Regions from separate parts of the Homo sapiens genome. Here region 1 is linked to region 2. The links are contacts of gene promoters, found by promoter capture Hi-C in blood cells and fetal thymus (Javierre and others, 2016). All regions are on one chromosome and are shown on one strand. Each heading gives the region's core, a stretch centred on a gene start or on the middle of the fragment in contact. The rest is flanking DNA. Distances are from core to core; before and after follow the strand shown.

Region 1 (6,451 bases), core at 1,331-3,830, 830 kb before region 2:
GCTGGGAACTTGATGGGCCTAATCTGGTCTCTGGAGGAAGCAGGAAGGGCTGAGGAAGGCACAGTGAGTCCTTTCCACTCTCCACAGAAGGGATCTCTTTCCTTTCCCCAGCGGTCTGCCCAGCAGTCCTGGGAGATAGCCAGATTCTAAGGATGTGATTTGCTCCAAGTTGGTTCTTGATGGCCTTTTGCCAACTCCCAAGACAGTTTAGTACCCACAAACAATGTAAATGTGGGGGGCCCTCTGACCAGGGCGCCAGACAGGATGTCCTGCAGCCCCCGCCCCCGCCCCATTCTTCGGAGTCTGGGTGGAATTGGATCTGCCCCTGAGGGTGGGAGGCAGCGGGCAGAGTGGGGGGGAAAAATAACCCTCACATTTCGGGATTGTCAAAGCTGAAATCCAGAAAAACTCTCACAGCTAAGGGACTCTTTCACTACTTCTTGGAGGAAGAGCAGAGAGCAGGAATCAGAACGGTATTTTTCTAAATTGTCTTCAAACTCCAGGAAGTAACATGTAGCATATTTTCTCCTTTATAAACCTACAGTATCATGTGAAACCTTGCCACAAATAATGCAGTTCATGATGGTTTACACTCCCAACATTGTCAGGGCTTTCCGTGTGTTGACTGGTTATTAGTTTTAACCTGCACAGAACTAAAAGATTTGTATAATTTTCACAGGATATTAACACTATTGATTTAATAATGGCTAATCCACATCCATGTAATGTGGAAATAATAAACATGTGAAGCAAATGTAGGAGTTCCCTTCATCTTGAAAAGTTGCCCTGATGCCTACTCAATCGTCCCCCTTGGGGCAGTTTTACAAGGAGCATTGCCTGCTCAACACAGGGTTGATTACATGTAACTTCTCTCCCAACGTACTGCCTTTCTAAAGGAAAAGCCTAACTTTGTCAGACAAGCTGAATCCTGTCATTCTCATCTTGTTTACTTGGGGAAAAAATATACCAGTGTCTATGTTGAAATGGGCCACACCTCGGTAGACACTCACCCAAAATGCTAACCGAAAAAAAGAAAAAAAGAAAAAAAAGAAAAAGCACCCTTCTTCATTCCTCCAGATTTCATGATTAGCATGAGTGTTTGCATTTATACAATCACATTTCGGGAACAAGAGAAAAGATAAGCATTTCAAAACAATCACTGCCTTCCATGCAAAGAAATTCCACATCCACTTTCTTTTAAAAGTTCTTTTATCGTTTCTGGTATGCCATCTTTTCACTCAGCACTGAAAGGCAGCTCTTTCTGGGGTGAAAGCACAAAGCCACTCAACAATTTTTAACAGGCACAGATGAAGTTCTCCTGCCCCACCCTCTTCTCCAAACCCAGCTTCCCTTTTGCCTCCCCCGCCCTCCACATCTGGCCAAGAGAAGGCATCTGGAATCCTCATCAGCTCCTGCTTCGACCAAGTGAACCCCTCCCACGTTTCATTTAAAACACCATTTGCCTCCCTCTCTTTCTCTCTCTAACAGTTTTCTTTTTTCATTTTTTTTCTTTTTCTTTTTTTTCCTTTTTGAGACAGAGTCTCACTCAGCTGCCCAGGCTGGAGTGTAGTGGCGCAATCTCAGTTCACTGCAACCACCATCTCCCGGATTCAAGCAATTCTCCCGTCTCAGCCTACCAAGTAGCTAGAATTACAGGCACCTGCCATCATGCCTGGCTACTTTTTGTATTTTAGTAGAGACAGGGTTTCACCATGTTGGCCAGGCTTGTCTTGAACTCCTGACCTCAGGTGATCCGCCCGCCTCAGCCTCCCAAAGTGCTAGGATTACAGGCATGAGCCACCGTGCCCGGCCAACAGTTTTCTTTAAACAAACCAATCCCCCTCTTCCCATCCTGTGAGGAGAAAAAAAATACTTAAATTTAAACAGAAGTGAATAGGGAAGCAAACAGGCAGGAAAAGCAATGTCAAAAATAAACTGAAAACCAGTTATCTATCCACCACCACCCAAAAAATCCCAACCAACAACCAGCGAGCAGAGTAACAGTTCAAGTCCTGAAGCAATCGGAATCAAAACGGAGGAGGTGAAAAACATCTGGCCAGTTCCCGATGTCATTTCCAAGGTGTGTGGTGTTTCCTCCATAAACAGGATCCTATCCCAGTTTGTTTCAAAGTCCCTGCTCCCTCCACATCCTAGAACAAGAACCCGGTCACTGCCAGGCACGATTTTAGCCCCATCCCATTGATTTCCCCAGACTCCGTCCTCAAAATACACTTTTCTGAACTTTCTAGAAAAAGTTGTCTCTGTATCCACTTTGAGCCAAAAGTTTCAAGGACTTGGTTCTTAGAGGATCATAGAAAAATAGCGAAGGAAGAAAAGAAAAAGCAAAACTAAGATGAGGTCAGAAGAAGCAGAGCCGTGGAAAGGAAGGAGAAGTTTTGCTGAGAGTCCCCACAGCGTTGGGAGCTGTCCTACCTGAAGGGTCCCAGCGACAGAGGCGCTCTGAGTGGCAGGTGCTGGCAGCAGCCCTGGTCCGCTCTTCTGGAAGTATGTGACCGCACTGAGGGGAAGGACCTGCCTCCCGAGGTTATAAGTTTCCTCTGCTGGTGTACTGGGGTGTGTAATGGGCGGTTTCTTTTCACCGTGTTTTAAAGGAGTTTCTATGAATCAGTCTGGCTTTAAAAAAAAAAAAAAGATTTGTTGGTAAGCTACGCCCTGCTAAGCTGGCAGTCAGTCAAGAGTGGCTGGGAGTGAGCCATCAATTCAAAGAACCCTGTTGTAGGCTCTCTCTGACTCAGACACACAGACCACAGTGGAAAAAAGGAGGGACATTGCTTCAAATGAGTAACAGGATCACACAAATAGATCTGTTTACTGAAGCCCATTCCTCCTCACCAAAAAGGAGACTTGGTTACCATGGACATAAGGCAAAACACAAGGTTTCAGCCTGGGAGGGGGAGGAAAGGGGCCAGTGTCCTGCTGACTGAAGTCCTAGGTCATCATCAAGCGAGATTCCCAGTCTTCCTCCCCCATTAAAAGCATCAGCTGCTGCTCACTGTCAGGAATTATCAGATTCCTTTTTTTATTTACTTCCCTGCCTGACCCTGGTGCACTGTCCTGTGGGTGGCTGTACAGGGAGGCCCTGAAGGCGAAGGGGACACACTAGGAGCTCTTGCAGCCCTGCCTCTGAGTGATGGAGCACTGATTGAACAGCAGAGAATTCCTGGTCTTTCATTATGCTCTGCTAGTGCCCGTGTGGACTCTCCACATTCCAGGAGGAAGTCCTCTAGTTAAGAACTTTGCTCTCTGTAATAATCAGCTGGACCTTGTTCTACAATTGACTTTCTTGAACTTGGCCAGTAGCATAATCATCCCTACTACCTCCCTGCACCACTCCTCTCTCTCTCTCAACTCTGGAGCTGGGAGAGGCCTGTGAAGTCATCTCATCCCACAGCCCAGGCATTCCACTGGAGAGAGTAAAAGCCCAGATGCCTGAGTTCAAGCCCAGCTCTCCACAAATTTGCTGTGTGACTTTAGGCAAACCACTTAACTTCTCCATGCCTATTTTCTCATGCATAAAATGGAGATGGCAGGTATGTAACTCATAGAGCTATGATGAGAAATACACATATAGGGGCTCATGGCAGTGTGCATAGTGAGCGCTCAACAAATCTTAGCTACAAGGATTATTTTACTGAAGAAGCAGCTCAGGCCCAGAGAGGTGAAGTGACTTATTCAAGGAGATACAGTACGTTACCAGTAGCAGCTTGGATCTAGGTCAGCACATCCAAGCAATTCTATTTCTGTTATTCTCTGCTGCACCCTGACAACTTATTTCAATTCAAAATATGCGTGTGTAGTATTTATTCATTCATTCTGCCAATACAGGCTGCACGTCAGTCTTCACTGGGCCTGATTCAGAGCACTGAGTCACAGAAGTGAATGACATCCCTGCCTCTTGGAACTTATATTCCCTAAAAAGATAGAAAACAGACTGGTGGCTATTCACCAAAATGTTGATCAAATTCGATGATAAAATTATGGATGCAGTTTAGTTTGTTCTGGTCACAATTCTGTATTTTCCAAATCCTCTGCAATGAACCTATATTACTGTCTTTAGGATGTTGGCATGTGGATGGATGGATTTTAGGAAAAAATATTTTAACATGGGAATGTGGAGAATATTTTCTAAGGTGGATGATAAGGAAAACACAACACACACACACACACACACACACAATGATTTGATGATGCTGCATCTTCACAAGTCCCTGAGAACTGAATTCTATCTCTGTAAAAGTAAGAAGGTCTGGATTTTCTCACTGAAAACTGATGACGTGATAAAAGACTGCATGTTTCTCATAGAGTTCCTCACCTCTCCCCTCTCTCATTGCTCATTTGATAATAAAAATGCCTGTCTGAGAGGGGCCACTCCCAGCAGTGGGTTGAGAGTCCCTGTGATCTCTGAGCATCCCAACCCTCAGGGAGGGGAGGGTGTCTGCAGGTGAGGCCAGGAAATCCCCAGGCATGTGCTGGCGCTCCAGATGGGCCAGTCTCCCCTGCTGGAATCGGCCTGTCTCCCTGGCCTTTTCCTACTCTCAGGGTTGCCTTTCACCCCTGATGCCCTCTGCCAGTTTTAAAGTCTCTCTTCCCTCAGCTGCCTGGAAAGGAGAACTGGACTCCAGAGGAAGTGTTCTCAGATGCTGAGGAGTATGTGGTCTGATTGCATTTCTTAAAGAGAAACCTGGAGCCAAGGAATAGCAGAGGGGAGGCATTCTCCCTCCCACCTCCTTCTCGGGCTTAACAAGGGGAAAAATCAGGAACTTTTCTTAAAGTACTTGAGTAGAGGAATCCTTCAGTCTATCTGGATTTCCATGGATTTCACAAAGAGAGACGCTGGGCTCAGGGACGGGCTTCAAAACAGGACCCAGAAAGCAGGAGGCCCAGTTTCCACGCCTACTACCTGGCAGTGGCTGTGAGCGAGGCATCTGCCTGCCTCCATTTCACCTTAAAGTGAGTAGACAGCATCACCTTCCAAATGGGTCTGATAAATCTCACCTTCCTGTGTGCTTTTGGAGATGTCTAGGTTTGGAGAGAAAATATTAAATGCATTGAGCTGTGAAAACACACCCATGCACACATGCAAAAACACATGCACGCACACACACATGCACACATGCACACACAGAGTGGTGCCATAGAAAGCCAAGTTGTGTAAATATTTTTAAAAGATGAATGCAAGTCCAGGATTTCTAAAGACTTATAATTAACCCTTGAAATATCACTGAGCTTATTTTATAAAACAAAGTTATCCAGTCTGGGAAAGCAATTGGATCTGTTCTGGCTGAAGTTCTAGCTTTTTGTGCCTCTGGATGTGATTAACTCGTTAAGCCTGAGTGTTCCTTTGGCTATGAGCAGACAATTTTGAGACTACAGACAGTAAACGGTTCAGGGCCTAAAACCACATGGGGCTGGAGATACAGCTCCCCTGGCGTTTATATGGTCTTTCCAAACAATGTCGAGTAAGCTGCCTTTCTGCTCCCATTTCCCCCATTTGGAAGGTAAATTAGACACATTCATTTTCTGCATGGGCAAAGAACCGGACAAAGTTTCATTTGACCTCACTCAATAAAGCCATATATTCTTGGGAGGGAATGTCTCTCTCACCCAGTGCAAATGTTACTCCAGCAAAGGGATATTTTCCCCTTTTTCGGAAGCAACAAGAATCAACTTCTGGCACGTTGCCATTTGGGGCAGATTTTCAAGTTTGAACCGGCGTAAACATTTTAATGAATGCATGAAACGAAGGCTTTTAATGACTGATACAAGAAGTCTACTAAGGCAGGTCTGGCCCCTACAGCCCACAGAAAAGAAAACTAATAATAGCTTGAACTTGTTTTTGTTCAAACTCAGTTAACCGAAAAGAATCCCAAACTATGCAACATGTTCCCCAAAGCTATTATATGAACAGGGATGTCAATATTAATATTAGCACACACTGCTTGGAAGGTAAATAGAATGGGGGAAAAAGTTACACAGTATCTTCCCAAGTCAAAGGAATGTTTGTTCCTCACAACTCCTCTTTGAAATTTGAGAATTTACCAGAAATGTTGTATTCCTTCCCTTTCCTTTCTTTCTTTCTCCAACTCTCCTCTCTCTATTTCTCTCTCAGGCTTTCTTCTGGCTTTCTTTATGGTTTTTGGGGGTGTTTTTGTTGTTTTTTGGGTTTTTTGTTTGTTTTTGTTTGTTTTTTTGAGACGGGGTCTCGCTTTGTCACCCAGGCTGGAGTGCCGTGGTGCAAGCTCGACTTATTGCAATCTCCGCCTCCTGGACCCAAGCGGTCCTCCCACTTCAGCCTCCTGAGTAGCTAGCACTACAGGCGTGTGCCACCACACCTGGCTAATTTTTTGTTTTGCTTTGTTTTTGAGACAGAGTCTCGTTCTGTCTCCCAGGATGGTATGCAGTGGCACAATCCTGGCTCACTGAAGCCTCT
Region 2 (6,557 bases), core at 1-2,500:
GGTTTCACCGTGTTAGCCAGGATGGTCTCGATCTCCTGACCTCATGATCCACCCGCCTTGGCCTCCCAAAGTGCTGTTTTACAGGCGTAAGCCACTGCGCCCGGCCTAATTTTTTGTATTTTTAGTAGAAATGGGGTTTCACCATGTTGGCCAGGCTGGTATTGATCTCCTAACCTCAGGTGATCCACCCACCTCGGCCTCCCAAAGTGCTGGGATTATAGGCATGAGCCGCAGCGCCTGGCCGGCTTTTTTTTTTTTTCTTTTGAGGCAGGATCTCACTCTGTCACCTAGGCTGAAGTGTACTGACATGACTACTGCTCACTGCACCCTTGACCTCCTGGGCTCAAGCGATCCTTCTACAACAGCTTCCCAACTAGCTGGGACGACAGGTATGTGCCACCATGCCTGGCTAATTTTTTGTATTATCTGTTGAGACAGAGTCTCATTGTGTTGCCCAGGCTGGTCTTGAACTGTTGGACTCAAGTGATCCTCCTGCCTCAGCCACCCAAAGTGCTGGAATTACAGGTGTGAGCCACCATGCCCTACTATTGTTAACTTCTTTAGAGAATCACATTATTCCTCAAAATCATGAAAACTAAGAAGATGAGTAGGCCATGCAAGGTGCCTCACGCCTGTAATCCCAGCACTTTGGGAGGCCGAGGTGGGTGGATCACCTGAGGTCAGGAGTTCGAGACCAGCCTGGCCAACATGGTGAAACCCCATCTCAACTAAAAATAATAATAATAAAAACATTTAGCTTGGCGTGGTGGCAGGCATCTGTAATCACAGCTACTTCAGGAGGCTGAGGCAGGAGAATCACTTGAACCTGGGAGGTGGAGGTTGCAGTAAGCCAAGATCAAGCCATTGCACTCCAGCCTGGGTGACAGAGCAAAACTCTAAAAAAAAAAAAAAAAAAAAAAAAAAGATGAGTAACATGATATAATGTGTTGTTTTACATAAGAGCCAGAATGTTTACCAAAGTCTAACTCTCAGGCCTGTAGGGAAGAAATTGATTAGGAGATATACCTAATGTGAATGACGAGTTAATGGGTGCAGCACACCAACATAGCATATGTATACATATGTAACAAACCTGCATGTTGTGCACATGTACACTAAAACTTAAATAATAATAAAAAAGAAACTGAAAGCTTGTATTTCCTTATTTATGAAACAGATGAAGCACTGGTAAGAATAAGACAATATATGGATCATCTATAAAGCACCATTTGTTTTTGTTTTCTAAATAGTGTGGAACAGTGTAATATAGGATTTGACATCAATGAAGAAGGTTCAAGTACAACCTCTGTGTATGCCAGCTGCCTTATAAAAGGCTTATAAGAAGCTTATCTTACCCCAATCATTGAAACACATTTAATGATGTAAGAATTAAAGGGATGATATGTGTATGAGGAGGGGCATTTTAATTCAAATAGCTATGTAAATGTAAGATGTTTTACACTGTATTATACCAAGTTAAGTAAACCAGGGCCTTATGTTCATTATTTCCTAATCTTTGGTGGGGGTGAGGGAGGAGAGAACTGAAGGACTCTTACAGCAGAAACACCAGTTAATATAAAATAATCTCCACTACTTAATAGAGATACAAAAATAATAAAGTTGTGGCCTTCGTTCAAAAGGTAACTACCACAGTATATGCTAATTGGGTGGGTAATCTCTCTTCTCAAACACACACTCTCATATAAAACTGCCGCCAGGATTAATTACGAGTGTATCAGTAGTGATGGAGATTTTTCTCTATGGATCTGAACTAGTCCACCCACTGTCCAGATCACAAATAAGAATGAAAATCTTTCCATGGGAATATAACAGGGAAGGGCCATTTCCAACCTCATTCATTCACTTAGTCCCTATCTTATACCAGATTATATTTCACGTGCTGGGAATTCAACAGTGAGCAAAAGAGAAAATACCTGCCATCATGGAGCTCACATTCTAGCAGAGAAATATAGACAGATAAAGATATTTGCAATAGGTCAATGATAATTAAGTGCTATAGAGAAAAACAGGTAGGCAAAGGGGCTGCAGTTTTAATTAAGGAAATCAAGAAAGGCTTCACTGAGAAGATGCCATTTAAGCAAAGACCTAAAGGAGATGAGAGAGCAAGATACATGGATAAGTAGAGGGAAAGTAGTAGGGCTACACAAACGTCTCCAGCAAGTTCAGATAAAACAAAACGCAATCCTTTACCTTTCAAAAGGGGCTGGAAGGTTGGAATCTCTTGCAACTTGATGACATCGGGATCGTTGCTGACGTTCCGTGAGGCCTGGGAGCCCTGAGCTACAACCACAATATCATCCATCTTGGCTCTATGCTTGGCTGGTGAAGGAGTCACTGAAAATAAAGTTACACTGCTTAGGAGATGCATATTAGGCATCTCTGCCTCACCAAAGCAGTTTTTGGTGTAGTGATTAAAAAGAATAATTTTATAAAATGTAGCTATCTTGCAGTTGGGGTTGGGGTGGCAGGGATGAATTATAGAAACTGTTTTCTATAGTATTTTTAAAAGCTCAGGCTGGAGCCAGGCACGGTGGCTCATGCATGTAATCTTAGCACTTTGGGAAGCCGAGGTGGGCAGATCACCTGAGGTCAGCAGTTCAAGACCAGCCTGGCCAACATGGCGAAACCCTGTCTCTACTAAAAACACAAAAATTAGCGGGGCATGGTGGCGGGTGCCTGTAATCCCAGCTACTCAGGAGGCTGAGGCAGGAGAATCACTTGAGCCCGAGAGGCGGAGGTTGCGGTGTGCCAAGATCGTGCCACTGCACTTGAGCCTGGGCAACAGAGTGAGACTCTGTCTCAAAAACAAACAAACAAAAACGCCACCTCAGGCTGGGTGTGGTGGCTCATGCCTGTAATCTCAGCACTTTGAAAGGCTGAGTGGGAGGATCACCAGAGTCCAGGAGTTCAAGACCAACCTGGGCAACATAGTGAGACCCTATCTCTAAAAAAAAAAAAAAAAAAAAAAAAAATTTCTTTTAATTAGTCAGATGTGGTGGTGCACACTGTAGTCCCAGCTACTCAGGAAGCTGAGATGGGAGGATCACTTGAGCCCAGGAGGTCAAGACCACAGTGAGCCATGATCACACCACTGCATGGGTAAGACAGCAAGAGTCTCAAAAAACAAAACAACAACAACAACAAAAACCCTCAGACATTACAGGATTTTATTTTATTTTGAGGCAGAGCCTCGCTCTGTCGCCAGGTTGGAGTACAGTGGTGCAATCTCGGCTCACTGCAACCTCCGCCTCCTGGGTTCAAGTAATTCTCTTGCCTCAGCTTCCTGAGTAGCTAGGACAACAGGCATGCACCACCACATCTGGCTAATTTTTGTATTTTTAGTAGAGATGGGGTTTCACCATATTGGCCAGGCTGGTCTCGAACTCCTGACCTCGTGATCCACCCACCTCGGCCTCCCAAAGTGCTAGAATTACGGGTGTGAGCCATCACGCCCAGCCCATTACAGGATTATATAACATGAATGAACTTCTTTCATAACTAAATATTTTCTTTTTCAGCACACAAAAGTATAGGCAGATTGTTTTTACTTTCTCTTTAATTCTCCTGCTATCTTGAGATATATATATATATCTCCCTATTTCTAAAATGAGAAATAAAGGGTACAAAATTTAACTGTGACTTGCCCAAAGTCAGCAGTGCTAGACAGTTAGGAAAGGAATTAGACATCTACAAGTTATTGGTACACAAGGCCCATCTCTGCGACACTGGAGTTGCAAAGCTGTCTATCCACCCTACCACATCAAGCCAGCTATGTTTAGTAAGTCCAGGAAAAAAACCTGTTCTCAACCCCCGAATGACTGGCCTATTCCCGAGGCTTCAGCCTCCTCACTCTTTTTTTTTTTTTTTTAAGTCAAGGCGGCTGGGCACGGTGGCTCACGCCTGTAATCCCAGCACTTTGGGAGGCCAAGCCAGGTGGATCACTTGAGGTCAGGAGTTCGAGATCAGCCTGGCCAACATGGTGAAACCCTATCTCTACTAAAAATACAAAAATTATCCAGGCGTGGTGGCATGTCCCTGTAATCCCAGCTACTTGGGAGGCTGAGGCAGGAAAATTGCTTGAATCCGGGAGGCGGAGGTTGCAGTGAGCCAAGATCATGCCACAGCACTCCAGCCTAGGTGACAGTGAGACTGTCTCAAAAAAAAAAAAAAAAAAAGAGTCAAGTCTCACTACATCGCCCAGGCTGGATTTAAACTCCTGGGCTCCAGCAATCCTCCCACCTGGGCCTGAGTAGCTAGGACTACAGCCCCCTCACTCTTAAAATTATAGCATTAGTCCAGGGCAAAAATAGCCAGTAAGTCCATTCTAGGCTGAGGCAAAAATCAGAAATTTGGAGGACAAAGAGGGAGATCAATTCAGGTTCCTTGGGAGAAAGTAATCCATTTGGAGGGAAGTGATTCAAATTATAAAGGACTCCCTAGACCAAGAAATCATCCTCTCCCCCAAATATCTTCCAGACTGGGACAAGAATGAATCTTTAAAGTGTTTTATGCTCTAGAAGGTAATATTCCCAGGCTCATTATAGTCATATCTCAAAGGTTAATCCAGGGATGCCATAGAACTGTTCTGCCTCCTAGAAGCTCGTCTCCGGAGGCTTGGCATTCACTCTTCTAGAAAAATCTCTGCTGCTTTTATTTCTTTTCAAGAAATATTTATTTACCTGTTTTGGTAATTTACCTAACATTTTACAAAAGCCATGCCAGAAATCTTTCCTGCTATAAATTGTGATTCCTCCTTCCCCAGATACCAGAGGAAAGGGGACTTCAAAACACTCTAGCTAACCTCTACTACTTTATCTGTAAAATGGGATTACTGCAAAAATTATATGTAAATGTATGTAAAGTACCGGGCACAGGGGAATAGGCAAATTCTAACATCGGAAATGCTCGAATGCTGTTGGTTCATGGGCAAGAAAACAAATTAAAAAGATGCCACACCGCTTCCCCCTAAAATATGTTTCTGCCCTGCCATAGAGGCAAGAATGTCAAAGGTGGCAATTATTATATTTCTTATAACAGATATGACACTCTGGCCCTTCCAAGGAAATAGAAAAACGTAGCAAAGCTAGTAGATGCTGCTCACCATTCAAAGCTGCCCCAATCCAGTCCCCAGAATGTAGGTCTGAACTAGTCTTGAAAGTCACACCTTAAAGTGAAACACCCTTAGATCTATTAGCTTGCCTATTTCTGAATTACAGCTCCTATCAAGAACAGAGAACTTCTAAAATCGGCGACTCTTTTTAGGCCCCAGATTTAACCAATTTGCGTTAGCAACCCCGGAGCTTAACCAAAGCACTCCCAGCTGTCCTAGCGTGTGGGTAACAAAAAAAGCAGCAAATGGTCCTCAATTAAACATCAGCTGCTTTATCTATTTATTGAACACTCACTGTATTGCAAACACAATAATCCTCCCATTCTTGTCTCAAACGCTTAGAGAAGTCTAAAAATCATGGACAGAGAACAACAATGGAAAACACCAGTGCCTGCTGTCTGGCCAACCTCTACAAGATTAGAAAACGGACCAAGACACCTTCTGAGAAGAAAAAGCTGTTTCTGGAGACCTTTGCACTAAAGGGTTCAAAGCAAGTGGACACCTATCACATATCCCTTCAGAAAAGGAACCTCTAACACCCGTTTTTAAGAAACAGACTGTTCTTAGAGGTCCTATAATCCATCCACTGTGTGAGCCAAATCTCACTACATCAGCCATGAGCACTAGAGCCAAAAATTAATTAGCTCGTCTTTTAAACAGGAGGCTGTAGCTGGGAGAAACGGCTGTTTTGAAAATAAATAAGGGCACTGGCGCCCACGCTGGCTTAGCTTGCAGTCACACGCACTTCCATCAGGGGAATCGAGGCCAGGACAGATGGTGACTTTTTTTTTTTCCTACTAGCACGGTGAAGGCTTTTTCTGTGCGTTCCCGTCCGCAGTCCCTGACCCTAGTCTGGGAGGCAGCCCGCTCTGCAAGGGGACAGGGCGGGCTGGAGGAGGGTGGGAGGTTAGGACACCGACCTGAGGAGTTCAGATCGTTGGGTCGGCTCTCGGCCTCGGAGCTCTGCTCACTGCCCATGGTGCCGACAGCGGTGGCAGCAGAAGAACGGCGGGCCGGGCGGTCACCGCTCCGGCGGCGGGCGACAGGGCAGGGGCCAGGGACCGGGACGGGGAGGCAAAGCAGAGTCTGGGCGCCGCAGCGAGGCTAATGTGTGGGGCTGACGCGTCCAGCCCACGCAGGGGCCTGGGCGGCGGGAGAAGGAGAGGCCCTATTTGGGGAACAGAAACGCAAGGAGGCGCGGCGCGAACGCACGCGGCTAGCCCTCCTTCTTTCCGGGAGCCCTAAGAGAACCGGCAGATGACACTGGCTTTGCCGCACCTGCGGCCGGCGGGCGGCGCCGCTTTCACTCACTGGTTCACGCTCCGCAAGCTCGCTCCTTCCGGGACGCAGATGGGCGGTGCCGGCTACGCAAGACCTTCAGTTCCGGATTAGGAGGCCCCGCCCCCCGGCCCGAGGGAGGGGCGGA

What was found. The method cuts DNA at HindIII sites, captures the fragments that hold promoters and counts their contacts. A CHiCAGO score of 5 or more calls a contact.
Region 1: a contact is called between the fragment with the promoter of EMP1 here and a fragment that was not itself captured in region 2, in 1 of 17 cell types (naive B cells). The highest score is 5.3, in naive B cells.

What each region holds. Positions count from the first base shown.
Region 1 is chr12:13,192,855-13,199,305 of GRCh38, reverse strand. It overlaps EMP1 (epithelial membrane protein 1), which reads right to left and starts at 2,580. Exons shown (of 5, transcript NM_001423.3): 1 at 2,434-2,580. RefSeq lists an enhancer at 40-540. The HindIII fragment of the contact is 10,564 bases long and covers 1-6,451 here.
Region 2 is chr12:12,357,004-12,363,560 of GRCh38, reverse strand. It overlaps BORCS5 (BLOC-1 related complex subunit 5), which reads right to left and starts at 6,483. Exons shown (of 4, transcript NM_058169.6): 1 at 6,052-6,483; 2 at 2,212-2,355. The coding sequence starts at 6,109. It overlaps LOH12CR2 (loss of heterozygosity on chromosome 12, region 2), which reads left to right and starts at 6,494. Exons shown (of 2, transcript NR_024061.1): 1 at 6,494-6,557. RefSeq lists enhancers at 5,054-5,133, 6,020-6,557 and a silencer at 6,074-6,153. The HindIII fragment of the contact is 194 bases long and covers 1,154-1,347 here.